Regions from separate parts of the Homo sapiens genome. Here region 2 is linked to region 1. The links are contacts of gene promoters, found by promoter capture Hi-C in human tissues and cell types (Jung and others, 2019). All regions are on one chromosome and are shown on one strand. Each heading gives the region's core, a stretch centred on a gene start or on the middle of the fragment in contact. The rest is flanking DNA. Distances are from core to core; before and after follow the strand shown.

What was found. Contacts are between HindIII fragments. The study calls those that stand out against the background at their distance.
Region 2: a contact is called between a fragment that was not itself captured here and the fragment with the promoter of PSMD9 in region 1, in 1 of the 25 tissues and cell types used here (liver).

The regions. Positions count from the first base shown.
Region 1 is chr12:121,886,407-121,891,574 of GRCh38, forward strand. PSMD9 (proteasome 26S subunit, non-ATPase 9) reads left to right here and starts at 2,384. Exons shown (of 6, transcript NM_002813.7): 1 at 2,384-2,588. The coding sequence starts at 2,451. It also overlaps a transcript of HPD not described here. RefSeq lists enhancers at 2,041-2,654, 2,288-2,687, 2,655-3,268. The HindIII fragment of the contact is 23,703 bases long and covers 1-5,168 here.
Region 2 is chr12:121,553,813-121,558,980 of GRCh38, forward strand. All of the region lies in intron 4 of KDM2B (lysine demethylase 2B), which reads right to left. Among named protein-coding and RNA genes, the nearest start is that of KDM2B-DT, 24 kb to the right of the region's middle. The HindIII fragment of the contact is 4,739 bases long and covers 1-4,628 here.

The DNA.
Region 1 (5,168 bases), core at 1,134-3,633:
CTAGTTTTTTTTTTTTTTTTTTTTTTGAGACGGAGTCTTGCTCTGCCGCTCAGGCAGTGAGCCACCTGCCCTGGCCTCCCAAAATGCTAGGATTATAGCCATAAGCAGCTTACAAAACAGTTTTCTTGAACATGCTTATACTCTTCACGTGGATTTGCTAATTGTTACATTTTGCCTCTTTCTCCCCTTGTATCACTTTCTTCGGACCACTTGCAAGTTAGTAGCAGAAATCATGACACTACACATCTAAATAATTGAGCATTTATCTCGTTCCAATAAAGATAAAAGTGATTCTCTCATATAATTGCAACACCATTATCTGACTGAGGAAATTTAACACTGATATACTATAATTTAATATAAAGTTCATATTTAGATTTCACCAGTTGGCCCAATAAGTCTTGTAAAGCTGCTGTTTCTCATTAAATAATTCAAGTAAGGATCATGTATTGCATTTAGTCATTATTTCTCTCTTCCTCCCTTTTTAACTTTATTATTTATTTATTTATTTGAGACAGAGTCTCACTCGGTCACTCAGGCTGGAGTGCAGTGACATGATCTCAGCTCATTGCAACCTCTGCCTCCCCGGTTCAAGCGATTCTCCTGCGTCAGCCTCCCAGGTAGCTGGGATTACAAGTGTGTGGCACTGTGCCTTGGTAACTTTTGTATTTTTAGTAGAGACGGTGTTTCACCATGTTGGCCAGGCTGGTCTTGAACTCCTGACCTCAAGTGATCCACCCACCTCAGCCTCCCAAAGTGCTGGGATTACAGGTGTGAATCACCACACCTGGTCCTCTGCTAATTAATTATTATTTTTTTTTTTTTGTAGAGATGGAGGTCTTGCTATGTTGCCCAGGCTAGTCTCAAACTCCTGGACCTAAGGGATCCTCCTGCCTTGATCTCCCAGCATAATGGGACTACAGGTATGAGCCACTGCACCTGTATTTCTCTCTCTCTCTCTCTCGATAATGTTAGAAATGTTAGTTTATTTTTGAGGGGTGCGGTAGCTCACTCCTGTAATCCCAGCACTTTGAAAGGCCGAGCTGGGCTGGATCACTTGAGGCCAGGGGTTCGAGACCTCAGCCTCCTGAGTACCTGGGATTACAGGTGTGTGCCACCACACCCGGCTAATATTTTATATTTTTGGTAGAGACAGGGTTTCACCATGTTGGCGAGGCTAGTCTCAAACTCCTGACCTCAAATGATCTGCTTGCCACAGCCTCCCAAAGTGCTGGGATTATAGGCATGAGCCACCACACCTGGCCCATTGCATTTAGTTGATGCACATCTTTAGTGTTCTTAAATCTAGGCAATTGCATATCCGCCTCCTTTCTCTGTCCCCCACCCCTTATTCCCCATGTGTATTTCACAACATTGACTTTTTTTGAAGTTTTCAGGCCAGTTGTTTTGAAGTATGTCCCTTCTTTTGGATATGTCTGTTTTCCAATGATTAGATTCAGGGCAAACATGTTTGAATACTACACAGATGACCGCTGAGCCCTTTTCAAGACAAAATATTAGAGGCACATGGTCAGATATCAAAGTTGATTGTTTAGGTAAGCTGGGTTGGAATTTTGGCCTCACATTTTGCTAGTTGGGTAAATTGGTTATTGAGACGGTTTTCTCAGCTGTCAAATTGGGATGTAATAATCTAGCTTCATGAGGTTGTTGAATTAATATATGTAAGGCATTTAGAACAGCGTCTGGCACATTATAAGTATCAATAAATAAACACTGTTACCGTTATTATTATCACTACGATTTTTAGAGGCCTTAACAGGAACATCCAGCACCTTCAACAGTATATGGCTCATAGGAATCATTCCATGAATATTTGTTAGCAGAAGGACAGCTCTATGAGATAGATTGCTATCAATTACTGCCCCATTTTACAGATGAGGAAACTGAGGCCCAGAGAAGCCAAGTAGTGACCTAGGGTCACACAGATTGCCGTTAAGTGGCAAGATACGGGGTGTGTACTCAGGCATATCGGATCTGTAAAGTGAGGGATAAGGAACCTTAATGTATTTTGTAAATCCTCCAGGGCTGTGTGGATGTGAAGAACTGAATTGGAGCGCCACGCAGCGGTTCTCTGGCGTACAGTATCCATCCATACAGTAGGCGCTCAATAAATGTCTGCTGCACGAATGAGAAAATGAGTCAGCTGGGGCGAGATCATCCCCTAGCGTTGGTGTGCAATTGCGTGGGGATCCATTGCTTCCGACGCTACTCCTGCCGGGTCACCACAGGCGCACGTGTTCCGGCAGGGCGCGGCTTCCGGTGACCCAGCTCCGCCCTAAGCCCCATCCCAAGCCCCGCCCCTTGACTGTTCTCGCGTTCGCGGACGGCTGTGGTGTTTTGGCGCATGGGCGGAGCCGTAGTTACGGTCGACTGGGGCGTCGTCCCTAGCCCGGGAGCCGGGTCTCTGGAGTCGCGGCCCGGGGTTCACGATGTCCGACGAGGAAGCGAGGCAGAGCGGAGGCTCCTCGCAGGCCGGCGTCGTGACTGTCAGCGACGTCCAGGAGCTGATGCGGCGCAAGGAGGAGATAGAAGCGCAGATCAAGGCCAACTATGACGTGCTGGAAAGCGTGAGTGTGGGTTCGGGGCGCCCCAAGTCGCCTAACCCGGCCCGGAGTCCCTGGGGTACTGGGATGCCAGGGCGGCCTCAGTTTGGGCGCTCCGCAACGGATCTCCCTGGGAGGCCCAAGGCGCCGCAAGTGCGGCCTCTGTCGGCACAAGAAGGCAGGCAAAGAACTTTAGCAACTGAAGAGTTAGCCATATTGATATCCAGCAAGAGTTTGTGGAGCCCTGCTGTGTGCTAGGCGCTGGTTTAAGTGCTGTGCATTGTTGAGTTAATTTAATCTTTGCAACAACCCTTTGAGGTGGATGCTGTTACTCTTTCCATTTTAGGGAGGGGGAAACAGGTGTTACTTGGTGATTAAACAGCTGTCATGTGCCTCGCTGACTGCCTTATCTTAATTTTGTACTTTTTGTAAAGACAGAGTCTCACTGTGTTGCCCAGGTTGGTATCGAACTCATGGCCTCAAGCGATCCTTCCACCTCGGCCTTTCAAAGTGCTGGGATTACAGGCGTGAGCTACTGCACCCGGCATTTGCTGATTGTATCGTGAATTCTTAAACTTCAGTGTGTATATGAATTACCTGGGGATCTTATTAAAATGCAGATTTTGTTTGAGGCAAGGGAGCAGATTCTGCATTTGTAGCAAACTCCCAGCAATGCTGATGCTAGTGGTCTAAGGACCGAACTTTGAGTTACAAATAAGGCTCATCATCCTTATTGCATAAGGAGGAAACTGAGGCCCAGAGTGGGGCAAACGCCTATCTAAGGTCATGTAGTTCGGAAGTGGCAGTGGTGGGTCTGGCTCAAAAGCTGATGCAGGTTTTCTTATGCCATCTAGTGTAAAATCACAGATCAGTTTGCAGAGGAAGATGCAATTAATTATGCCCAAGTAGGGTGGGATGGAATGCATTTTAGGTGATGTAAGATGAAGTTTCTTTTTTTTTTGTCTGAGACGGAGTCTTGCTTTGTCACCCAGGCTGGAGTGCAGTGGCTCAATCTCGGCTCACTGCAGCCTCTGCCTCCTGGGTTCAAGTGATTCTCCTGCCTCAGCCTCCCGAGTAGTAGGGATTACAGGCGAGCGCCAGTACGCCAGGCTAATTTTTTATTTTAAGTAAAAGCAGGGTTTCACCATGTTGGTCAGGCCGGTGTTGGATTCCTGACCTCAGGTGATCCGCCCACCTTGGCCTCCCCAAGTGCTGGGATTACAGGCGTGAGCCACCGCGTCCGGCCATAAGATGAAGTTTCATACGGAGGGCCAGAGAACCATTTTACTGGGTGCTGACTATATGCTCAAAGTGGGATTCAGACTTCAGGTCTGTTACATTCAGAACCTGTGCTTTCAAGCAAATTACCAGCAATTTCTCAAACTTTAGTTTACTTTCTACCACATGCAGTATACTATATGCATATACCACTTGTGTTATTCCTTTGATATTTTTATTTAAATAGATCTACTTTTAATCTTATATAAATGTATTATTATTGTTATTATTATTATTGAGACAGGGTCTCGCTCTGTTGCCCAGGCTGGAGTTCAGTGGCACCATCTTGGTTCACTGCAGCCTCAATCTCCTGGTGTCAAGCAATCCTCCCACCTCAGCCTCCCAAGTAGCTGAGACTGCAGGTACGTGCCACCACGCCCAGCTAATTTTTGTATTTTTTGTAGCTATGGGGTCTCACTATGTTGCTTGCTCAGACTGGTCTGAAACTCCTGGGCTCAAGCAGTCCTCCTGCCTCTGCCTCCCAAAGTGTTGGGGTTACAGGCATGAGCCACAGTGCCTTGCCCATAAATGTATTTTAAAAGGAAATTTCAAAACTCCGCTGCATATGGAAAATGATAATCTCTTCTCTTAAATATAAGGTCAGATGCTTTGCATGTTGATACGGCATGTTGGTTGCTTCTGGCTAGCTGCTGTTGCTTGCTGAAAGCTTTCAGCCTGAAACCGTGCTCTATATTTGTTTTTAAAAAGTGGGTTTGGGCCGGGCCTGGTGGCTCACGCCTGTAATCCCAGCACTTTGGGAGGCCAAGGTGGGTGGATCACCTGAGGCCAGGATGGTCTCGATCTCCTGACCTCGTGATCCGCCCGCCTCGGCCTCCCAAAGTGCTGGGATTACAGGCTTGAGCCACCGCGCCAGGCCTACAAAAAATTTTTTTAAAAATTAGTTGGGCGTGGTGGTGCATGCCTGTAGTCCTAGCTACTTGGGAGGCTGAGGCAGGAGGATTGCTTGAACCCTGAATGTTGAGGCTGCAGGGAGCTATAATTGCACCACTGCACTCTCTTGTGGGTGACAGAGTGAGATGCTGTCTCTTTAAAAAAAAAAAAAAAAAAAAGGCCGGGTGCGGTGGCTCATGCCTCTAATCCCAGCACTTTGGGAGGCCGAGGCGGGCGGATCACGAGGTCAGGAGATCGAGACCATCCTGGCTAACACAGTGAAACCCCGTCTCTACTAAAAATACAAAAAATTAGCTGGACGTGGTGGCCAGCGCCTGTAGTCCCAGCTACTCTGGAGGCTGAGGCAGGAGAATGGCCTGAACCCGGGATGTGGAGCTTGCAGTGAGCCAAGATTGCGCCACTGCACTTCAGCCT
Region 2 (5,168 bases), core at 1,009-3,508, 330 kb before region 1:
GGGTGTGGGGTTCTTCTGGGGAATGATGAAAAAGTTCTAAAATGGACTTTCATAATGGTTGCACAGCTCTGTGAATATACTGAAAACAAGTGAATTGTGGCCGGCCTTGGTGGCTGGTGGCTCACACCTGTAATCCCAACAGTTTGGGAGACAGAGCTGGAAGGAGCGCTGGGCCCTAGAAGTTTGAGATCAGCCTGGGTAATATAGTGACACCCCAGCTCCACACACACACACACACACACACACACACACACACACACACACACACACACAAATTGGCCAAGCATGGTGACCCACACCGGTGGTCCCAGCTACTCTGAAGGCTGAAGTGGGAGGACTGCTTGAGCGTCAGGAGGTTGAGGCTCCAGTGAGCCATGATCGTGCCACTGCACTCCAGCTTGGGCAACAGAGCCAGATCCTGTCTCAAAAAAAAAAAAAGTGGGGTGAAATGAATTGTATGGTCTGTGACTTATATTTCAATGAAACTTTTTACTTTTTTAAAATGGAGAGTCTCAGAGATGGCAAGTAATCTGGGAGTGTTTCCAAATAAATGTATACCTTGTATATATCATGATACTTGCCCTTTGTAACATACTTTTTTTTTTTTTTGAGACAAAGTCTCTCTTTTGTCCCCCAGGCTGGAGTGCGATGGCGATGGCGCGATCTCGGCTCACTGCAACCTCTGCCTCCCAGGTTCAAGCGATTCTCCTGCCTCAGCCCCCCGAGTAGCTGGGATTACAGGCGCCTGCCACCACGCCCAGCTAATTTTTGTATTTTCAGTAGAGACGGGGTTTTACCATGTTGTCCAGGCTGGTCTAGAACTCCTGACCTCAGGTGATCCACCTGCCTCAGCCTCCCAAAGTGCTGGGATTACAGGCGTGAGCCACCGCACCCGGCCTGTAACATACTTTAAATTAACACTTTTATACTCTCATTTAATCCCAGGTATATATACCTCTCTCACATGCACACAGGTATTAATCCACAAGTTATGATTTTCAGTCTTAGTCCAAATGTGGACCAGAAAAAACAAAAGAACATCTGCATCTGGGATTCATGCAGCACTCAAATATTTGATGAATGCAAGAGTAGGCTGAGTGTGGTGACTCACACCTGTAACCCCAACACTTTGGGAAGCTGAAGCAGGAGGATCACTTAAGCCCAGGAGTTCAAGACCAGCCTGGATAACATGTCAAGACCCCATCTCTACAAAAAATTTAAAAATTATCTGTGCATGTTGGCAGACACCAGTATTCCCAGCTACTTGGGAGGATCACTTGAGCCTGGAAGGCAGAGGCTACAGTGAGCAATGGCTGTGCCACTGCACTCCAGCCTAGGTGACAGAGTGAGACTCTATCTTAAAAAATAAAAAATTTTAAAAAACAGTAGATAGCAATCCTATTTTATAAAAAATGGATACCAATTTAAAATAATGTTTAATCATATCATTTAGTTATGAGGATATAGTAATTTACAAAATTATACCTTAAGACCCTGAAAATGTTATTTATTTTGCAAGTGTCAAAGTATCAAAAAAGAAAGAATAACTAGTCTGGGGTAATTTTATTTTTTTCTTTTGAGACAGAGTCTCGCTCTGTCTCCCAGGCTAGAGTGCAGTGGCACGATCTCAGCACACTGCAACCTCCACCTCCCTGGTTCAAGTAATTCTTGTGCCTAAACCACCAAAGTAGCTGGGATTACAGGCGTGGGCCACCATACCCGGCTAATATTTGTATTTTTTGTAGGGACGGGGTTTCGCCATATTGCCCAGGCTGGTGTCAAACTCCTGGGCTCAAGTCATCTGCCCACCTAGGCCTCCCAAAATGTCTGAGATTATAGGCGTGAGCCACCACACCTGGCCAAAATTTTTTATAAGAATATAAATAAGTAAGTGATATAGTTTGGATATTTTTCCCCCCCAAATCTCAAATCTCATGTTGAAACATGAATATCTCTCAAATATCTCCAATGTTAGAGGTAGGAATTGGTGTGTGGTGTTTGGGACGTGAGGGTGGATCCTTCACGAATGCCTTGGTACCCTCCTTGCATAAAGAGTGAATTCCCACTCTATTAGTTCCCATGAGACTGAATTGGGTTTTTGTTTTGTTTTTTTTGTTTTTTGTTTTTTTTTTGAGACGGAGTCTCACTCTCTCACCTACACTGGAGTACAGTGGCACGATCTCGGCTCACTGCAACCTCTGCCTCCCAAGTTCAAGAGATCCTCCTGCCTCAGCCTCCCGAGTAGCTGGGACTACAAGAACGCACCACCACGCCTGGCTAATTTTTTGTATTTTAGTAGAGATGGGGTTTCACCATGTTGGCCAGGCTGGTCTTGAACTCCTGACATTGTGATCTGCCCTCCTCAGCCTCCCAAAATGCTGGGATTACAGGGGTGAGCCACTGCACTCGGCCTGTTTTTTGTTTTTTGAGACAAAGCCTCACTCTGCTCATTAGGCTGGAGTGCAGTGGCTTGAACATGGCTCACTGTAGCCTCAAACTCCTGGGCTCAAGCGATCCTCCTACCTCAGCCTCCCAAATAGCTGGGGCTACAGGCTGGATTATTTAGAAGCATTTGGCACCTCCCTCCTCTCTCTCTTGCTCCCTCTGTGGCTATGTGACACACCAGCTCACCCTCCCCTTCCATCATGACTGGAAGCTTCCTGAAGTCCTCACCAGAAGCAGATGCTGGCTCCATGCTTCCTGTACAGCCTGCAGAGCTGAATCAAATAAACCTTTCTTTATAAATAATCCAACCCAGCTGGGCACCATGGCTCAAGCCTGTAATCCCAGCACTTTGGGAGGCCGAGGCAAGTGGATCACTTGAGGTCAAGAGTTTGAGACTAACCTGGACAACATGGTGAAACCCTGTCTCTACTAAAAATACAAAAATTGAGCCAGGCCTGGTTATGCGCACCTGTAACCCCAGCTACTCAGGAGGCTGAGGCAGGAGAATCACTTGAATCCAGGAAGCGGAGGTTGCAGTGAGCTGAGATGGTGCCACTGCACTCCAACCTGGGCGACAGAGTGAGACTCTGTCCTTAAAAAAAAAAAAAAAATCCAACCTCAGGCATTCCTTTATAGCAACACAAAGTGAACTAAGCCAGTAAATCAATAAAAATGTAATTTTAAAAAGAAAAAAAGGTTGTAGGATTAGCTAAGATTATGACCCAGATCGAACAGTAGACGCAGGGAAGGCACTAACCAGAAATCAGCACCCTCCCCTCCTCAGCCTACCCAGTTCCCTGTAATTTGCTAACGGTTTTGGCTACCCACGTACCTCAAGGGGTACTGTGAGTTGAACTGCACTCCCCCAAAATATATGTTCAGTCCCTAATATCTGTGATACAGGGTCTTTGCTGACGTGATCAAGCTAGAATGAGATCATATGGGATTAGGGTAGGCCTAATAAGACAAGAGAATTTTTTTTTTTTTTTTTTTTTTTTGAGACAGAGTCTCACTCTGTTCCCCAGGATGGAGTTCAGTGGTACAATCTCAGCTCATTGCAACCTCTGCCTCCTGGGTTCAAGCGATTCTCCTGCCTCAACCTCCCGATTAGCTGGGATTACAGGCGCCTACCACCACTTCCGGCTAATTTTTTTGTATTTTTAGTAGAGACGGGGTTTCACCATTTTGCCCAGGCTGGTCTTGAACTCCTGACCTCAGGTGATCCACCCACCTCAGCCTCCCAAAGTGCTGGGATTACAGGCGTGAGCCACCGTGCCCAGCCATGACAAAGGAAATGTGGACACAGACACACAGAAGGAAGACAGCCACGTGAAGACGGAGGCAGAGATCAGAGTGACGCAGCTACAAGCCAAGGCGCACTAAGCACTGCCAGCCACCACCAGAAGCCAGAGAAGGCAAGGAAGGACCTGCCCCTAGAGACTTCAGGGGGAAATGTAGCCCTACAGACACCCTTAATTTTGGACTTCTAGCCTGCAGAAGTGTGAGAGAATAAACTTCTGTGGTTTTAAGCCACTCACTTTGTGGTACTTTGTTATGACAGCCTAGGAAACTAATCGAAGGGTTAGTGAGAGAATGACTGGGTATACCTACATGGCTCCATAAATGTGACATATTTACACAGGGGAGGGCTGGTCCCTCCCCTTGCCTCCCTCCCAGAGCCTGGTATAAGCGGATCACGGGGCCAACACCTTCTATAACGAAATCGCAGTTTACCTAGTAGCTTCACAAACAGAAAGGTGTCACCCACTGATGACCTCATACCACTTCATCCTAAATACCGTATTTCTTGGTTACTTGTTTCTTGTCTTTCCACCCTGCTGCTCTGTGAGTGCCGTGAGGGCAGGAGGCTTGCCTGTCTTGATCGCTACTCTAGTCCAGATTTCTAGAACAGAGACTGGTGCAGGCTAGGAGCTCACTCTTTGTCGCATGAGGAATGAGTGCTGTTATTTACTTTTATGTTCTGTGTGGCATCTGACACACGACTTCACAGACAAATGGCAGGTGAACTAAAGACCTGACCTGGGGGTGGTTCTGGGTGGGCACGTGTAACAAAAAAGATGAAGCCATGAAGCCCCACCTGGAATCACCTGGTAGGTCCTGAGCAGCCCTGGGACAGCACGGCTCAACACAGAAGGACAGACATGTGTGGAGAAGGCCTGTGTTTCCTTTTCTTTTTCTTTTTTTTTTTTTTTTGAGACGGAGTCTCACTCTGTTGCCCAGGCTAGAGTACAGTGGTGCGATCTCGGCTCACTGCAGCCTCCGCCTCTTGGGTTCAAGCGATTTTCCTGCCTCAGCCTCCCAAGTAGCTGGGACTACAGGCGCATGCCACCATGCCCCAGCTAATTTTTGTATTTTTTGTAGAGACGGGGTTTCCTCATGTTGGCCAAGATGGTCTCAAACTCCTGACGTCAAGTGATTTGCCCGCCTCGGCCTCCCAAAGTGCTGGGATTACAGGCGTGAGACACTGCGCCCAGCCTAATTTTTGTATTTTTAGTAGAGATGGGGTTTAGCCATGTTGGCCAGGATGGTCTCGAATTCCTGACCTCAAGTGATTTGCCCACCTCAGCCTCTGAAAGTGCTGGGATTACAGGCATGAACCATGGCACCCAGCCTCCTTTTCTGAGGAATAACCATGCCTCCCACTGCCATCGCCGCCCTCCCCAGCACCTCCTAGGCACCCTCTTGGCCTCCGCTACTTTGCA